Linked DNA regions of Homo sapiens: all the other regions are linked to region 1. Evidence: promoter capture Hi-C in human tissues and cell types (Jung and others, 2019). All regions are on one chromosome and are shown on one strand. Each heading gives the region's core, a stretch centred on a gene start or on the middle of the fragment in contact. The rest is flanking DNA. Distances are from core to core; before and after follow the strand shown.

What was found. Contacts are between HindIII fragments. The study calls those that stand out against the background at their distance.
Region 2: a fragment that was not itself captured here is called in contact with the fragment with the promoter of ENPP1 in region 1 in 1 of the 25 tissues and cell types used here (IMR-90 fibroblasts).
Region 3: a fragment that was not itself captured here is called in contact with the fragment with the promoter of ENPP1 in region 1 in 4 of the 25 tissues and cell types used here (aorta, bladder, hippocampus and 1 more).

The regions. Positions count from the first base shown.
Region 1 is chr6:131,806,325-131,809,920 of GRCh38, forward strand. ENPP1 (ectonucleotide pyrophosphatase/phosphodiesterase 1) reads left to right here and starts at 1,696. Exons shown (of 25, transcript NM_006208.3): 1 at 1,696-1,951. The coding sequence starts at 1,712. The HindIII fragment of the contact is 10,154 bases long and covers 1-3,596 here.
Region 2 is chr6:132,312,042-132,315,637 of GRCh38, forward strand. MOXD1 (monooxygenase DBH like 1) reads right to left here. Exons shown (of 12, transcript NM_015529.4): 10 at 3,594-3,596. Among named protein-coding and RNA genes, the nearest start is that of MOXD1, 88 kb to the right of the region's middle. The HindIII fragment of the contact is 5,602 bases long and covers 1-3,596 here.
Region 3 is chr6:132,166,137-132,169,732 of GRCh38, forward strand. LINC01013 (long intergenic non-protein coding RNA 1013) reads left to right here. Exons shown (of 6, transcript NR_187602.1): 6 at 2,902-3,238. Among named protein-coding and RNA genes, the nearest start is that of LINC01013, 35 kb to the left of the region's middle. The HindIII fragment of the contact is 7,965 bases long and covers 1-3,596 here.

The DNA.
Region 1 (3,596 bases), core at 446-2,945:
TCTGCATAGGGCTTAAGTGTCTGGCAGCCCCGGCCCCAATCTTCTACTATATAGGCAGGTAGCTACTCCGTGTTGCTTATTTCCTTCTTACTGTGCATGTGGTAAAAAAGAGGGGAGGTGGAACCCCCATGGTGGACATGCCTGGCCCCAGTAGCCCCTTCTGTCTGTGCCGCTGCCGGCATCTCCCGTGCAAGCTTCCAGTTTCCTTACCTATGTTTGCAGCCCAATCTTCCAGGTTGCTCTTTGTTAGAAAGGAAGTGATTTCTTGGGCTGCTTTTTGTTAGAAGGTAAGTTCTGCCGAGGGCTCTTTTGCTCATACTATCTGCCTAAATAATTTCTATCTCCTGTATCAATATCCTATGTGTGACTCTATTCTGCATATATGACTTAGGTTTTAATTATTTTGTTTACGAGTTGGTCCTACCCCCCCACCCCCGCTTCCACCACACTTAAGGAAAGATACATTTTAATTCATTTTTTATATGGTATGCATAGTTGGAGGCCAAAAGATTGAGTTGAAGGATTCATTACTTGATGAATAAATGGATGGGTGGATGGATGAGTCAGTATAAATGAAGAGCATCCCAAGTTGACTATTTTAAAGGGATAACATGCATTTTATATTTGTTAAACATTCATTCTCATTTGTAAACACTTGTATATATTCATGTATTCAAAATGTATTGAAAATTAATTGTTTTCCTTGGTACCTGAAGTCAGTCCTGGGTATTGCAAAGTAGTTCGAAGTCACTGGTTTCCCTCTGTCTCACTTCACTACACACTGGTGATTTTGCTAAGTGATGAGCCAGAAAATGTACAAGTTCCAGAATCAAAGGTAAAACAAAACCCACCAAGAATCAGCTCACTGTTAGCGTCCTAGTTGAAAAATAAGGCTTATCAAAGTATTTCAGATTGCATTAACACTTTTGATATAGCTAGGTATCAGTGTCAACCTCAGGAGAGGGCAACGCCAACTCCTGAAACCTTCAATACAGAAAGTCTAGAAAAATAAGCAAATATACATACAAACAATAGCGAGAAGACTCCAGAAACCACATAAAACCGTGGGAATCGAAATATCCCTTACGTGTGTTCAGTACATGTGAACCCACGTATTTTAAGTGGACGATTTCTCTCTCAGAGTACCGTAGGTAGTGGGGGACGGGGCGCAGAGGGGGAGAAACAGAAAGTCGCCTTCCTCCATGGTTCATTTGCATTTCCATCCAGAAACTCACAGGTCGACCCCAAGACTCCACTCTCTCCCGCCTTTGAGAAGCCGGACCGGCATCGGCGGCTGCATCCTTCTCCTCCTCCCCGCTCTATTTTGGGGCCCCATGATCTCATGCCCTCTGCAGACCACACGCTGCAATTCCAGCCCAGCCCGCGCCGCGAGGCCACGCAGGGCGATTCCTGCAAGTGTCGGGAGGGTGGCCGGGGCGCGGGGAGGGGACGGCTTGGGGGGAAGTTTAAGACACGCCCACGTAAGGGACCCAAAATAACCGACACACAGAGTGCCCGAAATCAGACAGGAAGCCAAATAATCCGGGGCGTTGAGTCGCTTTGCCCTGACTGCGAGAGCCGGGTGTAGGGCGGGGAGCCAAGGATCTGACCGCGAGGGGCGGGCGCGGCGGGGAGGGGCGGGGCGGGGCGGGCGGCGCGGGGCCTATTAAAGGCGCGGCCGGGCAGCGGGGCCGGAGCGGCCGGGGCCACGATGGAGCGCGACGGCTGCGCGGGGGGCGGGAGCCGCGGCGGCGAGGGCGGGCGCGCTCCCCGGGAGGGCCCGGCGGGGAACGGCCGCGATCGGGGCCGCAGCCACGCTGCCGAGGCGCCCGGGGACCCGCAGGCGGCCGCGTCCTTGCTGGCCCCTATGGACGTGGGGGAGGAGCCGCTGGAGAAGGCGGCGCGCGCCCGCACTGCCAAGGACCCCAACACCTATAAAGTACTCTCGCTGGTAGGTCCGCGGCCAGGCCCCGGCGCCCGGGAGGGCTGGGAGTACGGGGAGGGCGGCGCCGAGCTCCTGCGCTCTCAGCGCAGTCAGCACCGGGCACCGGAGAGAGGCATGGTCCGGGAGTGCTTCTTCGCCCGCGCGCTCTCCTCCGCAGCCTTTGCAAGTGCCCTACACAGCCGCCCCTGCCAGGTACCTTGCCAGGGCAGGATGGTTCACTCTCACTTGAATTATGGATGCCTGTGAAAGCAGGCTGTTCAAAACGGTCATCCTTAGAAATACTCGACCCCCTGCCCCAGGAGAGTACGGGTTTTTAGAGGAGAAAAATGTCAAACGCGAAAGTTGTTGGTCTTAAGAAGGTGCATCAATGTGTTGCTTCTTTTAGGGGGCTCTGGGCGCAGTATACATGACTTCACTTGGGTTAACTGATTGCAGTTGAAGAGTTAGCGGAGCTCTTTAAGTTTTATTAGGAACTCTACGGAACACTTTTTCCCTTTCGCTCCGTTTTGGAATTTCCTTGCAGGTGCTCAGAAATTCCATGGATGTTCACATTATGTGACTGAAGAAACCTTTATGATTCTTTGCCCACTCTTCTAACCAGAGGCTACACGGTTTGTGTTGCTAACAAAAGCTACCTATTACTCCTCTGCTATTTTGCTATGACATTTGCAGGACCCACAGTCAACTTCATGAAATGTGGGGGTTGGTTTTTATTCTGAATTCATGGTGGGAAGTGCTGATTGAGAGAAGGCCTGGATTCCTGGCTGTTATTATTTGCTGAGGCCTTGCGTAACTGTCCCTAAACCTCAATTTCTAATGTGTGAAAATGGGACAACATCAACTCCCTTGTGCATTGCATGGGATTATTGTGAAAATCAAGCTGAAGAATGTAGGTAGGGAAGTAAATTGAAAACAGCAAGGAAATAGAATCATTTTTATTGTATTATATGGAAATCACAGATTTCTATGTATAGTGTACCCTAAAATATATCCCCTTACATATGATTGAATAATGCTTTGTAGAAAAATTTCTAATTTTTCAAGTCTCCTTTCATTTTGTATGCATTTCCATTTTCACTATATTTGGGACATCATGGAGATGCTATAATACTTTGAGGAATCAATCTTCCTAGACTTAAGAGATGGTGCCGTATGCTTAGTACTTAAAAAGAAGCCTTAGTTTCACAGAATAAGTACCCCAAGCCACATGATGTTTGCATCTCAAGATAAAATTTTGCATCTTGTAACACTGTTTTGAGTCTATAATAACACAATATTGATGAGAACTTAGTCTCTTGAGTCACCTTTTAAAAATTTTGTTAATGGAAGACCTTAGCTTTTACAACCTGATCACTTAAATTGTTTAGTATTAATACCTTGAGGTGTTTCACACACGATGAGGTAGTCGATAATTGTATATGGAATCAGTGTGTAACTCTTGTGTAAAACCATTTCTACATGCCTATAAACCTTTACAGGTTTTCCAATTGCAAAATTCAGGTTTTAAATTTTTCTTGCTCATTTACTTATACATCCACAACAGATATCAGCAAAGGTCTAGTTTTGGAATAAGCTGTCCAGTCTTTGAGACCTGCAGTCAACTGGTCAAACAGCATTCTGTGTGATGATGCTACTCTGGGCATTTGACATG
Region 2 (3,596 bases), core at 544-3,043, 510 kb after region 1:
TTGATTTATGGTACAACAGGGAATACACAATTTATCTAAACTCATTATCTATTTTGTTGTTTGATCTTTGTGAGTTTTTTGTTTTTCCTTAAGACTTGCCAGATCTGTAGGAGGCAGACAGAAATAGCACCCCCGAGAACAGACAATAAAATTGAGACAAGACATAGTTGTCTCATTTTTTCTATCAATCCTTCCTAGGATTGCTATAGAATGTTTAAAATAAAATATAGAACCTGATTAATCATTATATGAAAAGCACAGAATAGAAGAGTTTTGTTCATATGTTATATGATATTCCTTTTTAGTATTATATGCTGAATACCAATTGGTAATATTCTTCTAAGCAAAACAGAAAAAAAGCACCTAAGCCATTTTTTGTTCTGATGTTTGAGCCAGCACCTTGTTAGTTTGGCCTTCACTATCACTTATGTCACTGTGGTGATGAACTAGATTTAATGTCTAATTTAAAGTCTAAACATGTATTTTTAAATAGAGGCTCTTTTGTGCTCATATTTTTGAGGAATAAATTTAACCATGAAGTTAAATGGGTTTTGTCCTTTTTTTTTTTCTTTTTTCTTTTTTTTGGCAGGGGAGAATGACATCTCAAAACTAGCCTTGTTCTGTAAAGCAATTCTCCCTGTCTTTCCAAATTATGAAAACCCAACTTGAGTATTTCCTGAGGGAGACCAAAGGTATGGACACTGGTGGAGCTCATTGGGAAACAGGAGAGCCGAACATTTTTAGAGGCTTCATACCATTTAAACTTAAAAAAAAAAAATAGGCCATAGAATGCATTTAAATCATCTTGCAAACATACAGCTTTTAATATCCATTTGTTTTTAACATTCTCTCAAATTAACCATCGATTAGAAAATTTCCATTCAATATGTAAAAAATATTCTAAATGAGAAAAAGACTACTCAAGGCTAAGTAAGGAACAATATAACATCAATATTTGAAAACCAAGACTACATCCTAGTGTTTTTAAAATGATATTTTATGTGATGCTTGGATTTTTGTTGTTTTAATTTGTTTACATATGTAATTATTTACTTGTTATATATTTATGTATATTTATATATTGGCCTATATGTGCATGTTGTATGGGGAGAAAGAGATCAGAGACTAGATGCAAACCCCAACTCTCCCTTTTATTATGTACTATATAATGTTGAATAATTTCTTAATCTCTTGGTTTCTATTTCCTCCCCTATAAAACCGGGATTGCATGTCTTGCTCTACCTGTTGGAATTGTGTAAAAATGAATTATAAAATCATGCATATGAAAATACTTAGTAAACTATAAACCAATTTATGTAAGCATTTTGTTATTTGTATTTTATTAGATATAGGCATTTCTTCTAGTGGTCATTTTGCTGTTTGCAAAAAAATTCAGTAAAACCTATCTATGAATCATAAATTTAATTCAAAAAGAGGAGTGGGTCTCAGTTCATAATTTATAATCCTGTAATATTTAGGCACAAAAACTTGACCATATTTCTATTCTCCTTCATCATCTGCATTTTACCATATCCTCACTGAATGTTTTTTCACTCTCTCCTTAAATACATGTCTCAAAACTCTATGTGTGGCTAGGCATGGTGGTTCATGCCTGTAATCCCAGCACTTTGGGAGGCCGAGGCGGGTGGATCACCTGAGGTCAGGAGTTCGAGACCAGCCTGCCCAACATGGAGAAACCCCGTCTCTACTAAAAATACAAAATATTAGCTGGGCGTGGTGGCGAGCGCCTGTAATCCCAGCTACTTGGGAGGCTGAGGCAGGAGAATCACTTGAACCCAGGAGGCAGAGGTTGCAGTGAGCTGAGATCGCGTCACTGCACTCCAGCCTGGGTGACAAGAGCGAAACTCTGTCTCAAAAAAACAAAAACAAAAACAAAAACAAAACCTCTATGTGTATATTTTCTCTAATTACATAATTACGTCAGTCCCTTTCATTTTGAATAGTAGTGATCATTAGAAAATTCTTCTCTATATTAAAACAAATTCAGCCATCCCCAAATTTCCACCAGCCATTCTAATTCTTCTCACTGACATCAGTAAGAATAGATACATCAACCTTAATATATCCAAAACAGAATTCTCAATATCATCCTCAGCATGTTCCCCTAACACCATTCACACCATCACTGAGCCTTTACTCTGCTCTATCCCTCACTGCCTCCATGAGATGCCATTGATCAACAAGCCTGTGGGTGCTCCTTTCAAAAAGTAACCTGAATGGAATGTGTCTCATCAACTTGGTGTCACCACCTTGGCACAAGTGACCTTCATCCCTCAACTAGACAATCACAATAGTTTCCTGATTGATATTCCTTCCAGTCTAGCCCTCCTAGAGTCCTTTCCCAGTATAGTAGCCAAATTGACTTTATTTATATCCTTTAATTGCTTCCCTTTGCACTTAAAGCCCCAAGGCCTTATGTTGCCCATAAAGTCCTAAATCATCTGGTCCCACCTGCTCTCATGTGTCCTCACTTATTCTCTACCATACTTCACTCTTCTGCAGCCAAATGCACTCTCTTGCTGCTCCACAAACACGGTAGGTTCAGACTAACCACAGGGTCATTCATTACACTGGCTCTTTCCTGTGCAGAATTTGCATATCTCTATAGCTGGCTCCTTATCACGGAGGTCGCTGCTCAGATATCACCAACCCAGAGAGGCTTTCTTTATCCTGTTGACAACAACTACATACTTCCTTCACTGTTTTGTCTTCATAACATCTATTACTATTTAAAATATCTTTTTTTGTTTATTACCTCTCCCTCACTCCAGAATACAATCTCAAGAGGGCAAGGAAAATATGAATCTTGTTTATTATATCTTAAATAGCTCCTATAATTGTACCGAAAGAGAACAATTATACCTAAAGAGTTAACATAATAGGCCCACCTCAGAAAGGCCTGCTTGCAAGGATAATCCTTGGCAGGTGCCTGGAAACTTAAATAGTAAACGATTTCCTATATTGACATAAACTTTCTCTAATGATAAGAGTGACTCATTGTGCCTATACTGTGCAAACAATGCAGTTTATGCTGAACAACTGCTTTCCATCTGGAAGTATGGAATTTTAGTAAGTGGTAGGCAGAGACCACCTATATGACTAGTTCCTCCAAAAAACTCTGGGCACTGAATCTGTGATGAGCTTCTCCAATAGACAACATTCCATACATGTTGTCACAATTTGATGATGGTGTAATTTGGTGCATTCTGTGTGACTCCACTGGAAGAGGGCTCTTGGAAGCTTGCGCCTGGTTTCCTCTAGACTTTGCTTCATGTAGCTTTTCCTTTTGTTCTTTCTGCTTTGCATGCTTTCACCATATTCATGTTTTCCATGAATACAACTATTTGCTGAGTACTGTAGGTACTCCTTGCAAATCACAGAACCTGAGGGTGGTCTTGGGGACTCTGGACATAGTAATCAAAAAGGTTACTTGGTCTCCCCAGTTAAAAGTAATCAAATAGAACAAACAGTGCATAAAAATTTCTATAATGTGGTAATGGATCCAGTATGACAATAAAGCCCATCTTTCTCTGAAATACGTTACCCCATCATAAAATACATTTACTACTTACGTG
Region 3 (3,596 bases), core at 782-3,281, 360 kb after region 1:
TTTTCTTTTTCTAGTACTCTAATTACAAACTTTCATTCTTTTGCCATTATTTCACAGGTTGTTAATATTCTACTTTAAAATTTTAAAGTAATTTTTATGGAAAATTTGATCATAATTTTTAATAACTATAATAGAAAATTCTAAAAATTCAAAAGGTAAGCCATATCAACAATTCATATCATACCTATAGAAATGGCAATTTTGGTCTATTATTTTCCAAACCATCTACCTTATTTTCTTTCTTACATCTTATGCTGGCCATGACTTGCAGCCTATATGGTTCAGTAGCAATGATAATATCCTTGTATTTAATTTATCCTTGTATTTAATGTATCTTAAGAGAAAAAAAAAGTCTCAAATTTCATGATTAAGGATGCTGTTTGTTAAGGTTATTGAAATATATGTTCAAATGATTTCAGGGAGTTTCCTAATTTTGAGTATTTTGCTATTTTGATATAGATTTTGAAATTTATTTTTTCCCCTAACTACTGGGGGGGAAAATGTGGAAAAATAATTACTAGTGCTATTCTCCACGTATTTCAAATTGTCTCTGTGTCTGAACACATGTGGAATTTCACTTCTTTGTCCCCTGGAAGTGAGGTTGGCCATGTGACTTGCTCTGATGTATAAAGTATGAACAGAAAAAATGTGCTACTTCTGGGAAGAAATTTTCAGAGGTAGCATGGTATGTGTCACCAATTTCCCTTTTTCTGACACAGTGACTATGTAAATATGTATAGAGATGTCTCTTCTGTCAGTCTGGATCCCTTAGTGACTGTGATGAGCAAAGTCTTATTGCCAGTGTTCATTGAATGAGTAACATGAGCACATACTTAATTGTTATGATAAACTACTCAGATATTAGGGTTGTCTATGCAGAATAACCCATCCTTTATTTTTCTTTTTATGCTAAACCATTCTTTTATTTAAGGCACTAGTACTTGATCATAACATATCACTTAATATTTTTTATTCTATAGCTTTAAGTTTTATTCTACAAATCCTTTTGTTGATAATAATTATAACTTGAATGTAATCTGCTTTGTGTTTCTAGGAGGCAAAACCAGGTAAGCAATACAGCTTAGAGAATACTTTTATTAAAAAACTTTTCTTTCTAAGAGTAAAATGAGTGAAAGAAAAATAACTAAATATATAGTCTCTGTCCTTGTGGGATAATAGTAACAGAGTTCATTAGAAAATATGAAATAATGACCCAAAGATAATTCTACAGGGACCATGTGAGCTTAGAGTGAGAAAAGGAAAGAAATCTTTTCCAGAAGGAGTGATCTAGAAAAACTTTATGGAAAAGGTGACATATAAACTGGGTTTGAAAGATGAATAGAATATTGATGAGGAAATTCTACACAGCATCTAAGTAAATATACCGTGAGAAAAGTGTAAGCAAGATATATAAATGGAACAACAAGTTATACAGTTTGACTTACTTGTAATAGCAGAGTAAATATGTAGAAGTGTGAATTTTATTTTAAAACATCAAAGATTTTTAATAGAAGAGGGATTTTGTTATTAAGAGGATAATTAATATTGCCATTATATTTAGGATGAATTATAAAGGATGGGTACTAGAGGTCATCAGAGGTTTGGGAGGGGTGAGAGTTTTTCATTGTCAAGGTGAGACAGCAAGGGTCTGAGAGAGGAAATAAAAAAGAAGAAACAGCTTTGAGTTTTGTTGAGCTACAAGGTTTACAGATATTTATATTTTCACCTATGACTTAGCATTTGAAAACCTAACAGTCTTCTTTTTTGTATATTGCAAGCCATATAAATAGAGTCTATAACTAGATAGATCTTATTGGATAACCACCCAAAATGTAATATTTTATGCTATTGAACACTGACTCAATATGCTAATATTCAACACTCAAACCAAAAGTGAAAACACAGATGCCTGAGGAAAGAAAAGTTGGCAGCAGAAACTAGTGGGAATTGGGTAGGGTTTTTCTTGGCCTTCTGCTGCACAATAGGCAATTGTGATTCAGGTGTATTTGTTTATTCTGGTAGAAATAAATTCTCCCACTAAAACAAAAGTGCCATTATAAAGAGCTAGACAAAATCAACAACACCCGTCTTTGCCATGTCTTGCATGACTGTAAGGGGTCACATTCAGGAATTGTTGATCAGACTTCCTTTGTCTCTCTCTTTTAAAAAGGCATTTTGCAAATTTAATACTTTTCCATGTTCTAAAGCATTGCTTGTCCACGGGAGAGGGGTTGGGTGTCAAGCAAACGCAGAGAGGCTCTAGGGGTTTCTAAAGTGGTCACTTCAATAGTCATTTCATAACATGTTTGTCGGCATGTCTTTCTTCCAGTTCTGGTTTTGTTACCTTCTCTCTGTTTTCAATGTAAACAGCAGTACAAAGTGAGCTATCTTCCTGCTATTCAAAATAAATACTTATTTGGGTAAAATTTATAATGTTAGATTCTACTTTTAGTCAGGAAATGCAAACAAAGCTTGGAGACTGCTTGTTCCCTGACCCCAAATTCATTCCATGTTGCTATAGCATCACCCCTGAGAAAATGGGCCTGCCTGTTTTCCTCCCCATAGACAAACTCAATGGGCTTTTGTCAGCTCTTGAATTATAGCATTAAAATTTAAACAGTAGGGATTTAATGGAGGATTATTATGACACTCCAGTGCATTCTTTCTGTTGCCATTAGCAACAACCCCAAGAATGAAATAAAATAATTGTTTTAGGAGGTGCTGTTTTCCTAAAAGATGAAACATCTACCTTACATTCTTGGAGTTACATAAACTAATTTGTGTGTGTGTTACTTCTAACATGAGTAGAGTATTGGTAGTGTATACCAATCCAATGATTTAAGGTATTTTTTTTTCCCTTTTAGTTCAACCAATCTACAAAGGCCAAAAATATTTTCACAGGCCCCCAAAAGATGAACTCCAATCTGCTGCCCCTAAACGCATTCTCCACTGTCTGGAAGATGTGCAAAGGCAACGGCACAGCGTTCTCCATCTCAAATCCTTCAAAGTGCTGTCAGAATAAAAGAATCCCCACCAAAAGCCCCAGGGAAATCTATCTGTCTGTATGGTATGGTAATGACTGAGGTTATTCCAGATAGGATTCTGGGAGAAACTCAGCTATTGAAATCTAATGAATGGAACTGAGAATTTCTTGTTATAATACTGTTTGTTTGATTGAATATATCCTTGCATATAGGAAGACATAAAAATAAATAATAAAAGCAAGATATTATTTGAATTTTTGTTTGATTATATAATCTGAGAATTTTTCTGGTAAGTAATTTTGCATCTGGATTTATTTTTTCTGCCAGTCACTTGCCTTTCTAGTTTTATGTCATTTTTATCTCTTTCCTATTTTAATGTCAGCACCTAGGTTTACATTAAGGATTGTATTTTTTTAATCACCAGGGATTACAACAATTTATGTTCCTTTTCTAGCTGCCAAAATACAGATATTTCCTTTCTTCTGCTATATTCTTGCTGGACAACTCCTTTCAAAATATTTTTAACTTTTTCTGTTTGAAGTGAATTTCAGTTCATTGTAGAAATAATACAAAATGAGTAACAGGCAATAAATAAATGAATAGTCCTTTGGA